2 separate regions of the Homo sapiens genome follow, and region 1 is linked to region 2. The links are contacts of gene promoters, found by promoter capture Hi-C in blood cells and fetal thymus (Javierre and others, 2016). All regions are on one chromosome and are shown on one strand. The core of a region is centred on a gene start or on the middle of the fragment in contact, and the rest is flanking DNA. Distances in the headings are between cores, read along the strand shown. Region 1 holds the start of ALG6 (ALG6 alpha-1,3-glucosyltransferase). Region 2 holds the start of MIER1 (MIER1 transcriptional regulator).

The links. Contacts are between HindIII fragments. The CHiCAGO score rates a contact against its expected background, and 5 or more counts as called.
Region 1: a contact is called between the fragment with the promoter of ALG6 here and the fragment with the promoter of MIER1 in region 2, in 1 of 17 cell types (non-activated CD4 T cells). The highest score is 8.5, in non-activated CD4 T cells.

Annotation. Positions count from the first base shown.
Region 1 is chr1:63,366,103-63,370,280 of GRCh38, forward strand. It overlaps ALG6 (ALG6 alpha-1,3-glucosyltransferase), which reads left to right and starts at 1,525. Exons shown (of 15, transcript NM_013339.4): 1 at 1,525-1,585. RefSeq lists enhancers at 985-1,124, 1,985-2,094 and a silencer at 1,325-1,804. The HindIII fragment of the contact is 8,093 bases long and covers 1-3,107 here.
Region 2 is chr1:66,922,969-66,926,658 of GRCh38, forward strand. MIER1 (MIER1 transcriptional regulator) reads left to right here and starts at 2,022. Exons shown (of 14, transcript NM_001077700.3): 1 at 2,022-2,127; 2 at 3,174-3,274. The coding sequence starts at 2,061. DNAI4 (dynein axonemal intermediate chain 4) reads right to left here and starts at 1,888. Exons shown (of 17, transcript NM_024763.5): 1 at 1,694-1,888. The coding sequence starts at 1,863. RefSeq lists enhancers at 1,591-1,750, 2,041-2,320 and a silencer at 1,891-2,010. The HindIII fragment of the contact is 1,723 bases long and covers 1,108-2,830 here.

The sequences.
Region 1 (4,178 bases), core at 275-2,774, 3.6 Mb before region 2:
TCCACTATTGCCATCTCAGTCCAAGCCCTTGTCTAATCATGCGTGGACTGCTATAGTCTCCCTCTGATTCATCTGATCCATTTTCACCACTTTAAGTTTTCTCTAACACTGTAACTGTACTGTATACTTGACTCCCTGCTAAAAGTCATTTAATAGCCCCTTACTGATCACTGGATACATTCCAGACACCATAGCCTGGTATTCAAGGCTCTCTACAATTACCAGTCCTTTCCAGCTTCATCACCCACCACCTAAACTAGAGGAAATGTTCTACACTTTTCAGCTGCCACAATATTTGGCTTGAACCATTTCCTTTGTCTAGATTCTTACTCTCATTCTCTGGGCTTATCCAGCCAGGCTTTCCTTCAAAGCTCAGCTGACTCCTCCAGGAAAAGCATTTCCTGATGGTTTGCAGTTTACAGTGAACCCTCTTCTCCTAACTCCTACAGTGCTTAGTGCATATGTAAGTAATGTAACATTTAGTATGTGTTTCCTTCTATAGCTTTTTATCCTTTTATGCATAAAAATGTCTTTCCAATGAGAATTAAATGCCTTGAGGGCAGGGACCTGCCATATTTCTCCATATTCCCAGTGCTGATGGTCTTTTAGATATAATCATATTTTAGACCTGGAAGTTCACCTAGCCCTACTGATTTCTTTCACAGTTGAAGAAACTGAGGCCCAGAGAGAAGTTATTCAGACTCAGTAGAAAGCCATAGTCCTAGCCAAATATTTGCTAACACTTACAAATTATAGGGGTTGGCTTACGTAGAATGGCAAGATTCAGAAGTGGGGAATGAGGGCACTCTCTGAACAAAGGAAGGCAAGTAAAAATCATCACAGCCGTCCATGCGTGATTGGACAGAAGCCTAGACTGAGATGGAAATAGTGGAACTGGAAAGGAAGGGATCAATGCAAAAGGAAAAGTGTGCAGGTCTTACTAACTTACTAGATAGGTATTTTTGGCAAGTTTGGGACCAGGTGATTCAAGCTGCCCGCTGGGGCACGTGTAGTGGCTACTCGAGGGCAGGGCTGTCCTTTTGCACAACGCACAGGCTCTCGCAAATGGTTGGATGTTCAATGTTTCTTACTTTAGGGGGCTGCCCAGTCTTCTTCTTCGCAGGCATGTGGCTAGAAGAAAGTGAAGCAGGTTGGCTTTCTGGCTCCTCGAGGGCACAGGCCCAGAGGTGGTGAGGACCGGCCAAGGCTCTCTGCTCAGTGCAGCAAGCCAGGGCCCGCCCCTGACAGGAATCCGTTGGCTAAGCAGCCGCTCCGGCCTTGGCCACGATCCCAGGAAAGAAGAGCAAGGGGCTTTCCACCTGCCCCTAGCCTAACCCGGGGCTGGGGACCTCTCGGGTTCCATCGGCTCTTGCCCCGCCTCCTAAGCCGGCCGCCTCCTGTCCAGGCCAGGTTGCCCGCCCCTCCCCTCACGCTCGACGGGCTCGCTCCCGCACCGGGCGCGCGGGTGGTGCGCGGGCACACGGAGGCGGAAGGCCGGAGGGGCAGTCCGCCGCGGGGGCGAGCGCGCATGCGCCTTCCTGGGACCCACGGCAGGCGCGAATCCCAGCGGCCGGCGGGCGGCGGGGTAAGAGCATGGGATCCCGGAGGTTCCGGACCCCAGGCCAGTGTGGGGAGGTGCCGGGGGCTCGGACGCGCCACGAGCCGGCGCAGAGCTGGCGACCCGTCTCCCAGCTCCGCTCCACTCCCAGGGACGCGACGCGAGGCCTCCCCAGCCCTTCCTGCAGGGTCGCTTGTGGGTCGGGTGAGGGGACGCGGTGATAGTGGTGGCACTTGCAGGCTGGGGCGGTCCTGGCACCCTTGTCCTTGCGGTTCTGAGGGCCTGGCCCTCAAGAGGAGGGGCGGAGAAACGCGAGAAGGGATCCCTTTCGCCCCATATACACGCCCGGGATAGCTGCACTCCCCGGTGTTGTGTCCACTGCGGTGGAAGGACCTTTCAGACTAAAAGGAGCAAAGTCGGTTCTGGGATGGGGACGGCGGGCTTGGCATTTGTCGAGATGCACCGTCAGGGCAAAGGAGGACGAAAAGCGCATCTACTGCCTGCCTAGCAACTTCGTGGCCAGTGGATGGGTTAGAAAATTACTGTTTTCTGATTTACAGGTGGAAAAAGTCGCAAATAACCCTTTTTCTGGTTTAAGCAGAAGAGAGTCGTTAAAAGCCTCGCATAATATCTTTAACCACACAGGGCTCAGTAAAATTAGGGTACCTCCCCGCTTCGTACACACAGACGCACACAGCTCCATTCAGCAAATACTTCTTGGGTACCTGCCTTCTGCTAACACTGTTCTACAAGTGGGGAACAGAGAGCAACGACTAAGACAGGAGGATCCCTGCTCACAGGGAGCCTTTAGTCAACACATCCAAGTAATTTCCTTTTACACTTTTTTTTTTTTTAATTGAGACAGAGTCTTGCTCTGTCGCCCAGGCTGGAGTGCAGTGGCACGATCTTGGCTCACTGCAACCTCTGCCTCCCGGGTTCGAGCGATTTTCCTGCCTCAGCCTCACGAGTAGCTGGGATTACAGGAACGCACCACCACGCCCAGCTAATTTTTGTATTTTTAGTAGAGATGGGGTTTCACCATGTTGACCAGGCTGGTCTCGAACTCCTGACCTCAGGTGATCCACCTGCCTCGGCCTCCCAAAGTGCTGGGATTACAGGGGTGAACCACTGCGCCCAGCCCCTTTTATGCTTTTTAAATTGGAATATACCATATAGAAAAATACTGTACGCAAATTATAAGTTGTAACTTGTTAATTTATCCTAAAGTCAACACATTTCCTAACCACTACTCAAATCAAGAAGGAAGATTCACAGCATTTCAGAACACCTCTCTGGGCACCCCTCCCAACCACCATCCCTTCTTTCCTCCCCAAAGGTAACCTCTTTCCTGATTTTTAACACCATAGATTAGTTTTGCCTATTTATGAACCTTTCATGGAACCATATGATATGTATTCTTTGGTGTCCAGCATTTATACTGAAAATTATGTGTGTGAGATTGCACCATGTCATGTGAAAATACAAATCCTGTTAGTGAAAAGAATTAGGAAGCAAATTGAAGGTAATGATACAAACAGTAAGGGGAGGAAGCTTTAGTAGGATAGTCAGGGATGATCTTTCTGAGGGGATGATTTGAGATTTGGCATCAATGACAAAAGATTAGCCATTCCAATCAGTTCTGGAGTTATCCCGTGATGTTTTTATTTTAAATAAGAAAATAATTAGGGCCGGGTGCAGTGGCTCACGCCTGTAATCCCAGCACTTTGGGAGACCAAGGAGGGTGGATCACCTGAGGTCAGGAGTTCAAGATCAGCCTGGCCAATCTGGTGAAACCCCGTCTCTACTAACAATACAAAAATTAGCCAGGCGTGGTGGTGGGTGCCTGTAATCCCAACTACCTGGGAGGCTGAGGGAAGACAATCGCTTGAACCCAGGAGGCAGAGGTTGCGGTGAGCCGATATTGTGCCATTGTACTCCAGCCTGGGCAACAAGAGCAAAGCTCCATCTCAAAAAAAAAGAAAAAAAAACAAATAAAATAAAATAATTTTAGATCATTAGGTGGAATGTACCAATTTTGCCCTAAATTTTTTAGTTGATTTATTATATTTTCTGAATATATTTAAAGTGTATCCTGTGGTTAAAATGGTCCAACATTTTTCAAAGAGAAGAGGAAAATGTCAATTTTGTCGATTTGCTTTTTATTTTTTTTTGTTTGAGATGGAGTTTCGCTCTTGTTGCCCAGGCTGGAGTGCAATGGTGCGATCTCGGCTCACTGCAACCTTCACCTCCTGGGTTGAAGCGATTCTCCTGCCTCAGCCTTCCAAATAGCTGGGATCACAGGCGAGCGCCACCATACCTGGCTAATTTTGTATTTTTAGTAGAGATGGGGTTTCACCATGTTGGTCAGGCTGGTCTTGAACTCCTGACCTCAGGTGATCTGCCCACCTCGGCTTCCCAAAGTGCTGGGATTACAGGCGTGAGCCACCGCAACCGGCATCAATTTGCTTCTTACTTTAAAACCCCAACCTAAGGAAAACTGTAAAAAAAAAAAAAAAGTAAGTGGTTAATTGAGTTTTACTGCTTTTGTATTTTTTTCTCACGATTTGGGATTATTCTTAATGATTCTTAAAAAGGCTCATTTCTCTAAGATGGAAAGTTG
Region 2 (3,690 bases), core at 772-3,271:
CCAGCAATACCAATACAGTCCTGGATCATCAACAATGAATCACATATACAATGGTGATCTGGTAGCAGAGCTGAAAAATTCCTATTGTCTAACAACGTTGTAGTTGTCACAACATTCAAGCACAAGACATTACCTTTTCTATGTTTACATACACAAATACTTAGCATTGTGTTACAATTGCCTACAGTATTCAGTACAGTAACATGCTATGCAGGTTGGTAGCCTAGAAGCAACAAATGCATTTTCATCATTATGCAAACACCATTTAGTGTACTTACACAAACCTAGATGTATAGCCTACTATAGCTTAGGTGTACAGTCTACTATACAATTGTAGCCTAGGTGTATAGTAGCCCATACATCTACGTTTGTGTAAGTACACTAGAAGATATTTGCAAAATGCTGAAATTGGCTAACAAGGTATTTCTCAGAAGGTATCACCATCGATGCATGACTGTATTTAGTTATGGTAGTGAGGAACAGATACCAGCAAAGGATCTGGGAAAGGTGAAACCATGAACCAAGACAAGAACTAGGAAGAGTGGTTTCTCAGAACCCAAATAAAGCTTTTCAAAGATCGAGAAGCGATAAACCCGACCGACACTGCTTCATTCAAAAAGAATGAAACTGTGGATCAGCCATTGTATTTGGTTGCATGGCTATTGCTGGCTTTCATAGAAGCTGTTTTGATGGAGTGGTAGGATGGACAAAAGCGTGAGTACCATATTCAAGAGAGAATGCAAGGTTCTCTCCCAAGAACTCTCAACAAGTTCCGCTGAAGAAAGATTAGCTGAGGTGGAGGAGATTGGAGAGGGGAAGAGAAAACAAATTACTTAGGGAATTTTGGGGGAACTTAGTGGGCAGCATTACGGGCAGCGCTAAGGAACCATTTAAAGTAAGACAAGTCCACACAGCTGTGTGCTTTTCTACAGTCTTGTTCAACTGCTGCATAACAACAGAATGTTGGAAGCAGGAATTAGTTTTAAAGTAAGATGGTATTGACGAGACGACAATAAAATACCTCTACTACAGAGCACAGCAATGTTCGGCCTGGTGGCTCACAGAAGCTGAGGCTCTTGAACGTCTGGGCACAGCATGAAAGCATCAAGCTTGAGAGACTGCAGGCCTTAACAAACTAGAAGTGCTAGAACGATGGTTCTAAACCAGGTCTTTTCTCACACAGCAAGCACAGCAATAGAGATTTATTTTATCTTATTTTTTAGACAGAGTCTCGCTCTGTTGCTCAGGCTCGAGTGCAACGGCACGATCTCGGCTTACTGCAACCTCCGCCTTCCGGGTTCAAGGGATTCTCCTGCCTCAGCCTCCCAAGTAGCTGGGATTACAGGCATGTGCCACCACGTCCGGCTAACTTTTTGTATTTTTAGTACAGACGGGGTTTCACCATGTTGGCCAGCCTGGACGCTAACTTCTGACCTCAGGTGATCCACCCCACTCGGCCTCCCAAAGTGCCGGGATTACAGGTGTGAGCCACCGCGCCCAGCCCAGTAGAGATTCTTTTAAAGACTGCGGTAGGTCGATAAAGGAGACATTGTGGCCTAGGAGCTTCAAGGTCTACAGACTGAACCCAGTTAGGGTAGGGCCCCTTTCCAAATCCAGAAATGGTATCTATTAATAGAAGGGCTCCCTCCGGGTCCCAGGGGGATGGACTACGGTTTTTAGCGCCGGAACTTACAACCCGAAGTTCTGCTGCTTGTGACTGCCTGCCGGAGAGACTGGCATGGTGGCGACCAGCTGGGGAGTGGTGCACCACCCCTTTTTTTGGCCGCCTCTGAAGTCCCTGTACCCCCAAGCTCCTCCGTTAGCGGCTCGGGCCGAGGCTCCGGAATGTTTGCCGGGCGTCATGGCGACGGTGGAGCCCTGGCTCAACAAGCGGCCGCGCGGTTGGCTGGCGGCACGAGGCCGAGGAGGAGGGCGGAGGCGGAGGGGAGGGCAGAGGGTTGGTGGAGCTGGAGGAAGCTCCGGACGACGACTGGAAGAAGGAGGCGGGCGGCCCGGGCCTCAGGCCCCTCCCAGGCTCTGAGTCTCCCGGCTGCAGGCGGATGGATGGGGCTTCTTCAGGCGGTGGCGGCAGCAGCGAAGGTGGCGGCGGCAGCAGCGGCAGCGGCTGTAAGTGCAGCCTCCACAAGCCATCTCTCCCCTTCTATTCCAGTTTGGGATGAGGGGCTCCTGAGGTGTCCTCAGTCCCCTTTCTCTCCTTCCCCTCCCCCACGGCAGTGTACCGCCCGGAAGACCCTTAACTTCCGGGGAGGGGCTGCCGCAGAACGCGCCTGGCTTGCTCTCCGCCGGCTGCCAAAGGCGCATGCGCAGCTTCCTCCCTCTGGCCATCGACTGCCTCCCAGCGCCGCCTTTTTGCCTTCGCGGTGGTGGCGCCGCGCTGGGAATCCGCTGCGGAGTGAGTTCGCCTCGCCCCGTTCGCTTCGGTCCCTGATCCCAGTCGGGGTGGGGCTAAGCTGACCACCCTGCTGTGGCTCCGCCTCTTTCTCCTGTATTTCCCTCACTTGTGTCCCATCCCCGGGAGGCTCTCGCTTGCACTGCAGCCTTTATGGTGAGCAGCGCCCTGGGCCAACTTGCCCTTTTCGGATGGAGTCAGGGAGGGAGGAGAGACTCGAATAGGGTATTACTGTAAGGAAACGAGGTCCTCCTAGCGCGTGGGAGGATCCCTTGGGACAGATGCCCGCCGCTCTTTACTCTTGTTCTTTCAGCTTGTAGTGGCTAGGTCCCTGGCCTGGAGCCTATCTGTGGTCCCTGCATGCTGTGTAACCTTGAGCGAGTCACTATCCCTCTCTGGGCTTCAGTTTTCCCTATTTAAAGCTTCCTCCAACGCTAGAATTCTGCATTTCTGCAGAAGAACTTATGTAATTACAAGATTGACTTGGCTATTGAGGCCGCTTCACCAAGATGACCCGGAGTTGACTGAACCTTCTTCACTTATGGGTGGAATGAGGCGACCTATTTATTGGGTCGCTTTTATTCCTTTATCATTAGTTACAAATTGCATGACTTAAGGCTCATTAAATGTTTTTCTAAAATTGTCATGGGATCCTTGTCCTGATTCCCGACCATCTTTTTAAAAATGCGAAACAGGGTGGATGGTGAGCTTGTATCATCGTTTCTGTCTCCTTGCTACTGAGGCTCTCTTTCCTTTGATCCAGATGGTGTGGTCGCTCGATTCTCCCAGTGCCTGGCTGAGTTTCGGACGTGGTTAAGAACCAACTGGTTGAGGTTCAATGCAGACAAGACGGATGTGATGCTGGTAGGCAGGGGTACACTTGGAGATTAAGGGAGGGAAAATCCAAACTCCCTCAAGTAATATAAGATTATATTACTCTTCTTATATGTTCCAGTGTTTGAGAACTGATGGGCCAAAAATTTCCAGAATTTGGGTGAGATAAAAATAACATGTCATCAATGTAAAAACCATAATCATAGTTTGTAATATTCTGATAAAATGGGGCCACTGGATAAAACTGTAAAAATTATGAAAAGAAAATCCAAAACTGTTATTTGAAGAACCAAAAGCCTATATAAGTGTTTTAGAGTGGCATTAATAACAAAAAATGAAACTAACGAAAGATGATGCTGATTGTCACTATAGATGTGGGGCTTCCAAATGTAATAGGCTAAGTTTTTTAGATGTAGGTATTTTCAACCAAATTAGTAATTATCCAT